Linked DNA regions of Homo sapiens: regions 1 and 2 are each linked to region 3. The links are contacts of gene promoters, found by promoter capture Hi-C in blood cells and fetal thymus (Javierre and others, 2016). All regions are on one chromosome and are shown on one strand. The core of a region is centred on a gene start or on the middle of the fragment in contact, and the rest is flanking DNA. Distances in the headings are between cores, read along the strand shown. Region 1 overlaps LOC107985242 (a long non-coding RNA gene). Region 2 overlaps LOC107985242 (a long non-coding RNA gene). Region 3 holds the start of RGS2 (regulator of G protein signaling 2).

The links. Contacts are between HindIII fragments. The CHiCAGO score rates a contact against its expected background, and 5 or more counts as called.
Region 1: a fragment that was not itself captured here is called in contact with the fragment with the promoter of RGS2 in region 3 in 2 of 17 cell types (total CD4 T cells and naive CD8 T cells); the score reaches 5.7 in total CD4 T cells.
Region 2: a fragment that was not itself captured here is called in contact with the fragment with the promoter of RGS2 in region 3 in 2 of 17 cell types (total B cells and naive B cells); the score reaches 9.5 in total B cells.

What each region holds. Positions count from the first base shown.
Region 1 is chr1:194,299,007-194,303,605 of GRCh38, forward strand. The region is part of intron 2 of LOC107985242 (a long non-coding RNA gene); the gene reads right to left. LOC105371670 (a long non-coding RNA gene) reads right to left here and starts at 940. Exons shown (of 3, transcript XR_922390.2): 1 at 901-940. The HindIII fragment of the contact is 1,748 bases long and covers 2,222-3,969 here.
Region 2 is chr1:194,275,980-194,280,075 of GRCh38, forward strand. The region is part of intron 2 of LOC107985242 (a long non-coding RNA gene); the gene reads right to left. Among named protein-coding and RNA genes, the nearest start is that of LINC01031, 970 kb to the left of the region's middle. RefSeq lists an enhancer at 4,068-4,096. The HindIII fragment of the contact is 3,038 bases long and covers 75-3,112 here.
Region 3 is chr1:192,807,338-192,811,934 of GRCh38, forward strand. It overlaps RGS2 (regulator of G protein signaling 2), which reads left to right and starts at 1,702. Exons shown (of 5, transcript NM_002923.4): 1 at 1,702-1,844; 2 at 2,829-2,930; 3 at 3,033-3,094; 4 at 3,644-3,810; 5 at 4,065-4,597. The coding sequence starts at 1,735. The coding sequence ends at 4,259. RefSeq lists silencers at 153-242, 1,179-1,388, 2,896-2,955 and an enhancer at 1,719-1,938. The HindIII fragment of the contact is 4,593 bases long and covers 1-2,918 here.

The sequences.
Region 1 (4,599 bases), core at 1,846-4,345, 1.5 Mb after region 3:
CTACGAGTTTATGGTTTAAGTGATTGAAGACTGAAAATTTTAGCCTTCCTGTTGTTATTGTTGAAGGGGTCCCATTAGCCTGCTGAAGATAAAGTGTGTGTAAAGACAGTTGGTGAGCAATAGGAAAATCATATTTCAACCATATGTCCATGATGCACACAGCCTGGCTTGTACATCCCTGAGCCTGAATCTTGAGCATGGGTCTTCTTTGCTCAGGCGTTGTCACATGGAAGTATTTAACCTGTGGAATGAGCCCTTTTCAGGCTCCCTTTATTTTCCTGCATATACTTATCATTCTGGTTGTTCATATTCCTTTAACTTCTCCATTCCTTTAGTAGTTCCTCTTTCCTTCTTCTGTTTCTAGTCTAGGAACCTTTCTCTAACCCACTCTTTAGGCTTGTAAATATTCCAAAATCCATGGTTGGGATATTTTTTACCTGATTCCACTGCTGGATAAAGGGTGAAGTAAGCTTCAGTTTCTAAGCACAGAGAAACATAGAAAAGCGCCCATCTTGTCGTATTTCTGAGTGTAAAATGAACTCATTTCTGTATTTAAAAATAAAATCTGTATCTCTAAAGCTGCAAGAATAATTTTCTGCTGATTCTCAATTTTTTGGTAGAGGGTTGTAAATCTGGGCCAGGGGCATCATTTTGTTAAAATTTAATTTTATTGAACTTTGACAAATTATACTTGTAGATATTTATGAGATACAAAGTGATCCAATAATACGTATAAGTGTGGAATGTTGAGTCTAAGTAACATATCCACCATCTCAAATACTTATCATTTATTCCTCCAAGTATACACACACATACACACACACAAACACACACACACACAATGGTGAAACCCCGTCTCTACTAAAAATACAAAAATTAGCCGAGTGTAGTGGTGCACACCTGTAATCCCAGCTAGTCAGGAGGCTGAGGCAGGAGAATCTCTTGAACCCAGGAGATGAAGGTCGCAGTGAGCCGAGATCACACCACTGCACTCCGGCCTGGACTACAGAGCGAGATTCCGGAAAAAAAAAAAAAAAAAAAAAAAGACAGATATTCTGTCATTTGCAGAAGCATGGATGAATCTAGAGGACATTATGCTAAGTAAAATAAGCCAGGCACAGAAAGAAAAATACATATTCTTTCTTAAATGTGGAATCTAAAATAATTGAATTCATAGAGGTAGAGAGCACAATGACGGTTATGAGAAGATGAGAGGTGGGGGAAATGGGAAGATGGTCAATGGGAGTAACTTATCCTGAAATACAAATCAACCATTCCATCTGTGATTAGAAAGATTATCCCAATACAAAAGAAATGAGTGTCAGTTCCAATGCAATTTACTTTGCTCTCCATGAGATCTGGTCATCAGGATGCTTAAAACTATCTCCAGCCCAGTGGTAAACCCTGACCATATTCAGGGTATACGTATACCCTGCCAACCATGAGGAGTAACATGAGAAGAAATCAATCTCTCTTGCTTTCTCATTTCATTACCAACTGCCAAGCTCTCCTCTGTGCCATATTTCCCTTAGACTTTGTCCTTCATTGTCATGTCCCTATGACTAAGTTTCCTTCTAGGATTGAGCTCCTGCCAACTTTTATTAGTTTCCCTCCAAGTTACCAGAATGCATACCTTCTGCCTAAGTATAGAACATTTTCAACAAATATGCCTGATAGCCATTGCTTCCCAGGTTTGTTTTATCATCTACCCAATAATGTTTGTTTGTTTCTGTTGTTGTTGTTTTCTGATTTGAACAAACTATTGCTGTTTATTTGGAATGAGGACCTAGGTTGCTGACTCATTCGCTATGGTATCTATACTTCATTCTGAATATATAACATTCGTACTTGTAAATAGATCTCTACTCCAAATGGCAGTTCAATCTTAGGGACTGGATCCAGAACAGCACCTAGACCTAAGCTTATTTATTTGAACATTTCCTATCATGAGCCATATGTCAGAAATTTTAGTTTAGGAAGCTGTGGTAGCTGAATGCTTTCCTGTAGCCCAGGACTATTATTCTCTAGAACTTGGCTGAGCATGAGAAGAAAAATAGAACAAGCAGATGGGCTTTGCCTTCGGGTATGGCAGCACACTTCATTCTTTAGAGTATAAGCTTGCTGCTCATGACACTACGGCAGAGCAGAGCCTAAGAGGCCACATAGAGATGAAAATTGCTGCCTTGGCCTCATTATTCAAAGTCTCACTACCCAGAATACAAGCTTAGAAAGGATTCTTCACTATTTTATTCCTATTCTTGCCTGTCAGGAGATATTGTTGAGCCTGTACACCATGTGAAACATCATTTAAAGTTCTATGGAGGATATATGAAAATATTTGGAAAACAGAACCACTCTCAACCCCCACAAAAAAAAACTGAAAAAAGAAATAAAATGTTTATTTTTTCTATGCAAAGCAAATATGAAGTCTCCCCTCTCATTCAACAGTATTTCTGCCTCAAAAAATAAATAAAACATAATCAAAACACTTTAAATTCACTCTAACATGTAACAAAACTGTCACTGGAGATCTCCTGATTTGAGAAATCATAGGGTCTGCAAAACCACAGACTAAATATAATGCTAGACATTTATGTAAAATATTTCAGCAACAATATGAGTTGTATTATTAGGATGAACAATGATGGCCTTATGGTTAAATAAGCATATCTGAATACCTTATTTCTCAAACACACTGAAAATATGGGTTCTGCAAATGGTATCCCTCTTTCTCCCTAAACCTAGAGCAGTGCCCAAGAGAACAGAATACAGGGCCAAGTTTTATGTATTTAAATTCTGTTCTCCCACTTAAAGGTTCTGTTACTATAAAAAAAAAAAACGCAGTACTTGTTCTATGCTTCAGTTACCTTCTATATCATAACAAGATAATGATTGCATCTATTCAAGGAGTTACCAAGAAAATAAAACAAATTTATATAAGAAAACATGAAGGCTAGTGTCTGCCAAATATTAAGTACTTAATGAGTTATTATTATCATAACTCTCTCTATATTAATCAATAAATATTCATTTAAACATGAAGCCATACCAGAGGTTATGTAGTGGGTTAATAACTGTATCGCTTTCCTATCCATAAGGGAGTCCTTGAGAAACAGCAGTTTGAGGGAGTGAAGAGTAGAAGAAGATACTAAAATTAGAGAGAAAGGCTAATATTTAATTAACACTTAAAATGTGTCAGAACTTCTGCATGCATTATCTGATTTTGCCCTCAAACCAACTCTTGTAACTAGCCCAGGTCTGCACAACCAGGAATGGCAGAACAGAAATTAGAACAAGTTCTTCTCTTATCAATGAATATGATGCTCTTGAGGAAAAGCAAGAGGAGACAGAAAGAAATCCGGTATTTTAAACATAGGATTATATAGCCAAAACTAATTTACCAAGTTTATTATACAATTGCTCAAAGTTTCGCTTTGCCCATATAGGCATTATCTACCCTTTTAATTCTCCCCATTGTTGATAAAACCATAAGTTGAATCAAAAAGAACCTCACTGTTTGAATATTATTTAGTACGTCAATGTTTTATTTTGTATATTGGTAAATTATTTGGTTATTTTCTGTTTCTAATAGTTTTTAAATAATTTTGAATTATAGAATGTGGTCTATTAATATAGAATTTTTAAAATACATTTTGTGTATTGACCTTTTAAAACAAGAGGAGGCTTCCTTAAAGTGTCTTTTCACTGTTGTTAAATATACCAGCACATAAAATGTTAATGGAAATACTGCCTTTTAATGTTAGGTAGTGACCTTTATTATAAATGAATTTATCTCTAGAGTATATTTTTCAAAGTTAAAAGAAACCAATTAAAATGTTCTAACACTGAAGAAGCAATAAACCTCAAAAAATATCTGAATATGGAATATAGTTCTTAATTTACTGTCTCTTCACATGCAACATACCCAGAAGGTGTGCTATTGACTTACTATTGTGTTTCTTGATAAGAAGCTTATAAAGTGTCTGCTTAACTTTTCCTTTTCAAATTAACAAGATAATACGAGCATGTAGGTAAGCCATTGGCAAGGGCTAGAGGATAGCCATTTAAAAACAGAAAATATATATTATTGTGTTTTTATCACAATTTTCCTGGCTCAGAAATGAAAAAAAAAAAAAAAACCTTAGACTTGGCCCAGTATGTAAATGATGCAGGAAGCCATGTCCCCTGTCTATCTCTCCAACCACATCTGCTTCTGTTCTCTAATATGCATATATTCTTACAGTACCATCTTCAGGGATTTCTTTGACTTTTATATGCCAGCTTCTTGCTTAGGATGTTTTTTCTTTCTCTCTTACACAATTGATAAATGCCTATTCATTCTTTAATATCATTTATTCATTCAAAAATTTATTGAGCACTATGTGATAGGAACTATTTTTAAGTTCTGGTAACACAGCAGCAAACAATATAGACAAAAGTCCTTTCTTTCATGGAGTTTATATTTCAGTATGAGAAAACAATATACAAGTAAATGTATATATATTTATACATATATAAACATATTCTTATATATTATATATTTGTACATATATAAACATATTCTTATATATTATATATTTGTACATATATAAATATATT
Region 2 (4,096 bases), core at 344-2,843, 1.5 Mb after region 3:
TTCCAGTTGCATGAAGACAAAATCAAGTAAGATGTAGACCAGATCTCATAATGATTTGTAATCAGTTTCAAATAAGCTTAATTTCATATTGGATTAAGGTGGTATGGCCCAAATTTAACTACCTGTGAAAAACGAAAGAAAAACTCTATAAAGACAAGCCAATGTGTTAAAATATTTCTAATTTTTTTTCTGCACAATTCCATTTAAAAAATTACATGTCATAGGCCACGCGCGGTGGCTCACCCCTGTAATCCCAGCACTTTGGGAGGCCGAGGCGGGCAGATCACAAGGTCAGGAGATCTAGACCATCCTGGCTAACACGGTGAAACCCCGTCTCTACTAAAAATACAAAAAATTAGCCAGGCGCCTATAGTCCCAGCTACTTGGGAGGCTGAGGCAGGAGAATGGTGTGAACCCAGGAGGCGGAGCTTGCAGTGAGCCGAGATAGCGCCACTGCACTCGGGCCTGGGCAAAAGGGCGAGACTCCGTCTCAAAAAAAAAAAAAAAAAAAAAAAAAAATTACATGTCATAGCAATGGGCAAAAATAAATGGTGGTGCTAATTATGGTGATCATGATGATAATAACAAAGATTAGAAAAGAAACAAAGAAATAGTTTCAGAGGAGTAATAGGTTATGAGGATTTGAGACCTAAATTATAATATGAGATTAATTAATATTTTCAACCAAATAAAGATGAATTGGAATTTTTCGTCAGAGAACTGAACTTTATAAAATGAGTTATGAGAAAATTAAAAGAATAGAAAATATGCTATATGTAAAATTAAGAATTAAAGGGCTGTACTGAAAAACACATGAGAAACAGCAAAAGACAAGATTGGAGATCTGAACAGTAAAACAAATGAAAATATTTAGAGAGAATACAGAAAGAACAGAGATACCATGAATAGGTCTAATATATGTGCAAATGCAGTCCCATTAGAAATGAAAAAAAATTAGACAGGATAATTATTTGAATAAGTAATAGCTAACGATTTCCAAAAACTGATTACTGATATGAAGTCACAGATTTATGGAGATATATATAGATATATATATATAAAGTCAGGCCTTCCATAAATATATATACACGCAAAAACTATATATGATATATATATCAATATCATATAGATATTATATATCTATATATAATATAAACATATAATCTATAGTATATAATAACACATAACACATTATAGTAAAGTATCTAAAATGTTGAATAGAAAGAGAAAATTTATAACCACCATCTGATTCAATGCTATTCCTATCAAACTACCAATGATGTTTTCATAGAATTAGAAGAAACTATTCTAAAATTCGTATGGAACCAAAAAAAAAAAAAAAAGCCTGAATAGCCAAAGCAATCGTATGCAAACAGTACAAAGCCAGAGGCATCACACTACCCAACTTCAAGCTATACAACAAGGCTACAGTAATCAAAACAGCATAGTACTGGTACAAAAATAGACACATAGACAAATGGATCATGGTGGAGAGCCTAGAAATAAAGCCACACACCTACAACCATCTGATATTTGACAGAAACAAGCAACAGGGAAAGGAATCGCTAGTCAATAAATAGTGCTTGCATAACTTTCTAGCCATAAGCAAAAGATTGAAACTGGACCTTTTCCTTTTATCATAAACTAAAATCAATTCGAAATGGATTAGAGATTTAAATGTAAAAGCCAGAACTATAAAAACCTGGAAATAACTAGGAAATACCATTCTGGAAATAGGCACTGGGAAATATTTTGTTATAAAGACTCCAAAAGCAATTGCAACAAAAACAAAAATTAACAAGTGGGACTTAATTAAACTGAAGAGCTTCTGCACAGCAAAGGAAACTTTTAACAGAGTAAAGAGATGACCTATGAAATGGAAGAAAATATTTGCAAACTATGCATCTGACAAGGGCCTACTATCCAGAATCCATAAAGAACTTAAACAATTTAACAATAAAAAAAAACCATTAAAAAATGGGCAAAAAATGTGAATGGACACTTCTCAAGAGAAGACATACACGTAGCCAGCACGCATGTAAAAAAAAAAAAATGTTCAATATCACTAATCACTAGAGAAATGCAAATCAAAACCACAATGAGATACCATCTCACACCAGTCAGAATGGCTATTATTAAAAAGTCAAAAATTAACAGATGTTGGCAAGGTTTTGGAGAAAAGGTAATGCTTATACAGCGCTGGTGAGAATGTAAATTAGTTCAGTCACCGTGGAAAGCATTTTCGAGGTTTCTCAAAGAACTTAAAACAGAACTACCATCCAACCGAGCAATCCCATTTCTGGGTATATACCCAGAGGAATAGAAATCATTCTACCATAAAGACATATGAATGTGTGTATTCATCATGGCACTATTCGCAATAACAAAGACATGGAATCAACCTAGATGCCCATCAACAGTGGACTGGATGAAGAAAATATGAAACACAGGAATAGAAAACCAAATGTCACATGTTCTTACTTATAATTGGAGGTAAACATTGAACACATTTGAACACAAAGAAGGGAACAATAGACACCAGGCCCTTCTTGAAGGTGGAGGGTGGGAGAAGGGAGACATCAAAAAACTACCTACAGGGTACTATGCTCATTAACTGGGTGACCAAATAATCTGTACACCAAACCCCCACAACACACAATTTATCTATGTGACAAACCTGCCCATGTACCCTCTGCACCTACAATAAAGGTTGGAAAGAAAAATTTTTTAAATAAAAATAAAACCACTGTAGTAATTCGTTGTGACTGCCATAACAAAACACATAGACTGGGTAGCTCAACAACAGAAATTTATGTTCTCAGTTCTTGTGGGTAAGGAAATCCGAGACAAAGGTGCTGGACAATTTGGGTCCTGGTAAGAACTCTTTTCCTGGCTTCCAGGTGGCTGCCTTTTTGCCTTATATGACAGAGACAGAGAGTGAGAGAAAGAGAGAACAAGAAAGAGAAAGGAGAGAGTGAGAAAGAAGGGGAGAAACAGCTCTTCGTTTTTCTTCTTATGAGGCCACAGTCCTACGGAATTAGGGCCTCACCCATCTAACCCTATTTAGCCTAATTACCTTCTAAAGACCTATCTCTAAGTATAATAACATAGAAGCTTAAGGCATCAACATATGAATTTTAGAAAGACAAAATGCAGTCTCTTGCAAACAGTTAAATTTCTTCAAAAAACAATAATGAGATTAATAACTGGCCTGTTAACATAAATGATAAAAAAAACACGGTTTGATTTTTTTTCAAGGGCTGAAAAACTAAATAACACTTACCAATAAAGAATTCTATAGAGGCCAGGCGCGGTGGCTCATGCCTGTAATCTCAGCACTTTGGGAGGCTGAGGCGGGTGGATCATGAGGTCAGGAGTTTGAGACAAGCCTGGTCTATACGGTGAAACGCTGTCTCTACTGAAAACACAAAACTTAGCTGGGTGTGGTGGCAGGTGCCTGTAGTCCCAGCTACTCGGGAGGCTGAGGCAGGATAATTGCTTGAAGCCAAGAGGCGGAGGCTGCAGTGAGCCAAGATCGCGCCACTGCACTCCAGCCTGGGTGACAAAGTGAAACTCCCATCTCAAAAAAAAAAAAAAAAAAAGACATTCTATCATAGTAAAAAATGTCCTTCAAAAATTAAAGCAAAATAAACACAATTTTTAGACAAAAAAAATTGAGAGGTTTCATCAGCAGCAGATTTTCAGTAAAGGGAATATAAAAGGACATTTCCAAAGTATAATGACTCAATATGAACACAGGAAGGCAGAGGAAGGCATAATGAACAAGGGAAAAGAATACTATGTAGATAAATAAATTAATTTTTACTGCTTCAAAATCAAGGATGACTTCTGGGTTTAAAATATACACATGCACTACCTGACGACAATACCATGAAAGGCTGGGAGGGACATAATGGAGTTAAAGTGTTCTAAAGCCCCTGCATTGTTTAGAAAATTGTAAAACAAGTAATTTATCTTAGACTATAATAAGTGTAAAATGTACATGAGTAGTGTGATAAATAATATGGTAAACACTGAAATAATAATAAAACAACGAATACTTGAAAGCTATAAAAAGGGAAACAAGAAAGACTAA
Region 3 (4,597 bases), core at 452-2,951:
CTGCCTCTTTGTCAGAACTCCTGGCCTGCCAGCGAATTTAACTGTCTATGAGTAAATTCTAACATCTAAGGTTCTAAGTATAAAATATATTGAGGTTTACAGTGGTGAGAAAAAGCAAGTGTCTGCGTATTACAGACAGCTGATAAATACGTATTGAGTCATCAGAAAGTGAAAATAGATGTAGGACTATTATGCAAAGCATAGGAGAGGAAGAGCATATGCTTAAGAAAAAATGGCATTCCTAGAGTTAACAAGCATGTTTCAAAGTATCTATTACTGAAATCTACACGATTTTCCTTTCCACAATAAAGTCCACAACTGTTGTCTTAAATAATAACTGCAGGTTTTGCCCTCCAAGTCAAACTTGGAGCTCCAACTACTGGCAGCTCACCGTAAGAATATATTAATTATTTCCAATTTCCTTTTAAGAAGTCGAATACAAAGTAGAGAGAATATCTGCAGCTTGGTTGCAAAGCCGCTTAAACATTTCACTGGCTAGTTCTGGTAATATTATCCGAAATCAACTCATTTTGTGGTTGAGGTAATCTATTTGTCTTTACCAATCAAGTCGTTTTAAAACCTTCAGGAGTAGAGATGATACTTGAAGAATTAACAAATAAAACTTAATCAAGGAAACTGTTAACTCATTCTCCCCCCTACTTTTTGCCAGTTATTAAATGTTCTGGTAAATCCTAACTCAACAAGAATGACTCATGAGGAAATCCTGACTCCTTGAACTCACTGATTCTGGTGCATTACAGCTATGAAATCTCTATGTCTGCAGCTTTCTCTCCCACCATAAGGAAATCTGTGATTTCTATTTTGGCAGGAGATGTGACCAAGGACTCCTGAGGAATGACCCTATAGACAGACCCAGCCACGTGCCTAGTAGTGATCAAAAATGCAAACCCAATTAAAGCACTGTCTTCTGATAAAGTCACTTTCTCTTGTTCAATCCCTAATGTTCATTCTCAAAGTGTTCCAAGACGCCCCAGCAAGCTGCAGAGCAGATCCCACCCTGCCCCTGGGCAATCAACGTTTCAGGTTACTCCTTCCTTAAGTTAAGTGGCAGAGAGAAACGGGCGAGGGTCTCCCCATTGCCTCAGTTCACAGACCAGGGGGTGTCGAATGAGTCCTACAGCAGGACAGCAAACAAGAAATGAGGCGCGGGGTCAGGGAACGCGCTCAAAAAAGGAAGAAAAATCCCACTCTTCATTCGAAATCAGGCCACTGCACTCCGGCCTCGTGGCGGGCGACCTCCTCCTGCCAGGGAATCGCCGCTCTGGCCTCGGGCTGGGGAGCCCGTCAGGGTGGGTGAGGGAGCGCCGGCGCCCCCGCCGGGCCGCCGCCAACTTCGGCTCCCTCCCTCCGTCGCAAAGCCCTCGAGCCCGCCCGGCCGCCACGCTTCAGCAAAAGGTCGTGCGCAGCGGCCCACACTGAAGACTCTCCATCTGCTCCCACACCTGCCCCAGCTGGCCGCTGCTATGTGGCCCGAGTGCGCAAGAAGCCGGGGCCGCAGACGTCAGCAGCGCCCCGGCTTCGAGACCCTTCGGCAGCAGCCGTGACTGCCGCCGGCGGGCGCTGACCCATCCCCGTGCCAGTCTGCAGCCGACCAATCCGCGTCCTCTTGAGGCGGGGCCGGAGCCGCGAGGCCCCGCCCCCAAGCCGAGGCCTCATAAATGCTGCGACGCACGCCCAGCCGCAAACAGCCGGGGCTCCAGCGGGAGAACGATAATGCAAAGTGCTATGTTCTTGGCTGTTCAACACGACTGCAGACCCATGGACAAGAGCGCAGGCAGTGGCCACAAGAGCGAGGAGAAGCGAGAAAAGATGAAACGGACCCTGTGAGTATGGCTTTCTTCCCTCTCCCGCCACCCCCTGCCCCACACTGCAAGCTGCAAACGCGGTACTTTCGGGCTCGCCTTTGACGTTAGGAAACTAGCCTGAGCCTATGCAGGGAAAAAAAATCGAAAAGGTCAATTTGTTAAGTAAGGTTAAATCTGGGTGATGCTCGGGTACAGTTTAAGAACCGAGGGAGACAGTTGATATGAGGGCGGTGGTTGATGCGCTAAGAAATTGCGGGTTGGCTTTTTGTCCTCCTGCATTCAAAATGACATCAGAATCCTGCGGCTGAAGCGCGTCCCCAGCATTCATACGTTGCATGATGAGTTCTCATCAGCTTACACAGCTACTGGAAGGTGATGCTCTTGCTGGTTCTGAATATACTCGTTTAAAATCCATTTTTGTTTTTTAATTATAGAGCAGATCTCACCCAGTCCGAATGTGGAACAAATAATTGTTATGCAGCGTCTGCTTAAAAGAAGTGTCGTAGGTGGGGAAGGAAGAGCGCAGGGGAATCAGTCACCCACCTCTTTGTACAGTCTCTGGCGTGGTCCAGAACCTCCTGCTCTAAAGAGAGAAGCGTGGGCCGGCTCCAGACAGTTCCATGTCTGTCCTTTTCATTAAAGTGCAAAACGTCTCGGAATTGTAATTAACCTTGCAAACAAACTGATGCCCTTTGTGAGCCAGAAATAGTGTCTGCCTTTTGAACTAAATTCATTAACAATTCTTTAAAATACCCTAGTGATTATAGGTAGCCCTGCCCTTAGTTGTAAAACTAGTAGATACGGTCAGATTAATGGACGAAACTGCTCAGTACATGAGGTTTAAATGTTAGGTGGATAAGACTTATTTGAAGAGTTCTTGCTTTGCCTTATGCGGTTTGTCTCTAGTTACTGGGTGACTTTATTTGGTAAAAATGCGTTCAGCTGCAGTAGCATATTCAAGTGTTGCTAGTTAGTAATTATCTTTTTAATTTTTTGTTTTAGTTTAAAAGATTGGAAGACCCGTTTGAGCTACTTCTTACAAAATTCCTCTACTCCTGGGAAGCCCAAAACCGGCAAAAAAAGCAAACAGCAAGCTTTCATCAAGTAAGTTGAGAATCCTGTGCTTGCAAATATCAATAGTTAGCTGCTGAACTGAAAAGGGGAACTCTGATGTGCGTAAGCTAACATACAGAACCTCTCTTGCAGGCCTTCTCCTGAGGAAGCACAGCTGTGGTCAGAAGCATTTGACGAGCTGCTAGCCAGCAAATGTAAGTTAACTCTTGAGCTTGAGCCATTGCTAACATCGCAAAAGCCTGGAAAGGCTGCGTCCACCTAACAAAAGAGCAGCTTGCCTGAGGGGGATTAGACTGCAGTCACTATAGGATAAAGCCTGTTTTTCTTTCCTTTATTTCCCAGGGTTTAACAAATAAATGCATATATTCTCTCCAGGTGGGGAAGAAAATCAGCCTAAACAAATTAAAGTGGCAGTTGCTTATAGTTAAGGTTGAGTCAGTTTTTCCATTGCATACAATGTTTTCAAGAGGCTTAGTTCCCAGAGAATTTATGGCTCCCCTATAAATATTTACTTTGCATTGACAGCAAAGTACTTATATTTTTGCAGCAGAGTGCCAACATAAGCCTTTTGCCTACTGGTATCTTAGTCTTTAAAAAGCTAAATTTTGAGAATTACAGGTTTGAGCGAAATCTAGAAAATTCATTTAGAAATAATTAAAATGTGAGGGATAGGAGAAACATAAGGAATCATTTGGTCTCTCAGTTCTTCACATTCTGCATGCTCTCTTTTCTCCCCCCTTCAGATGGTCTTGCTGCATTCAGGGCTTTTTTAAAGTCGGAATTCTGTGAAGAAAATATTGAATTCTGGCTGGCCTGTGAAGACTTCAAAAAAACCAAATCACCCCAAAAGCTGTCCTCAAAAGCAAGGAAAATATATACTGACTTCATAGAAAAGGAAGCTCCAAAAGAGGTAAGGAAACAAGTTCCTAATTTCAGCACAATCTGGACATCTTTAGCACAAAAGTGAAACAAAGTAATCAAGGACAAAGCGGGCTAGGAGGGGTAAAAAGTCCCTCCACGTTGTAGCTTTCAGTTATGTTAAAGTTCTCCTGTGACTTAGCTAGTAAAGCTAATCACACATAATTTTTATTTTTTGTTTTCAAATACTAAATTTTAATCTTTAACTCTGAATACCAAATAAACAACTTTTTTGTTTTATTTCAGATAAACATAGATTTTCAAACCAAAACTCTGATTGCCCAGAATATACAAGAAGCTACAAGTGGCTGCTTTACAACTGCCCAGAAAAGGGTATACAGCTTGATGGAGAACAACTCTTATCCTCGTTTCTTGGAGTCAGAATTCTACCAGGACTTGTGTAAAAAGCCACAAATCACCACAGAGCCTCATGCTACATGAAATGTAAAAGGGAGCCCAGAAATGGAGGACATTTCATTCTTTTTCCTGAGGGGAAGGACTGTGACCTGCCATAAAGACTGACCTTGAATTCAGCCTGGGTGTTCAGGAAACATCACTCAGAACTATTGATTCAAAGTTGGGTAGTGAATCAGGAAGCCAGTAACTGACTAGGAGAAGCTGGTATCAGAACAGCTTCCCTCACTGTGTACAGAACGCAAGAAGGGAATAGGTGGTCTGAACGTGGTGTCTCACTCTGAAAAGCAGGAATGTAAGATGATGAAAGAGACAATGTAATACTGTTGGTCCAAAAGCATTTAAAATCAATAGATCTGGGATTA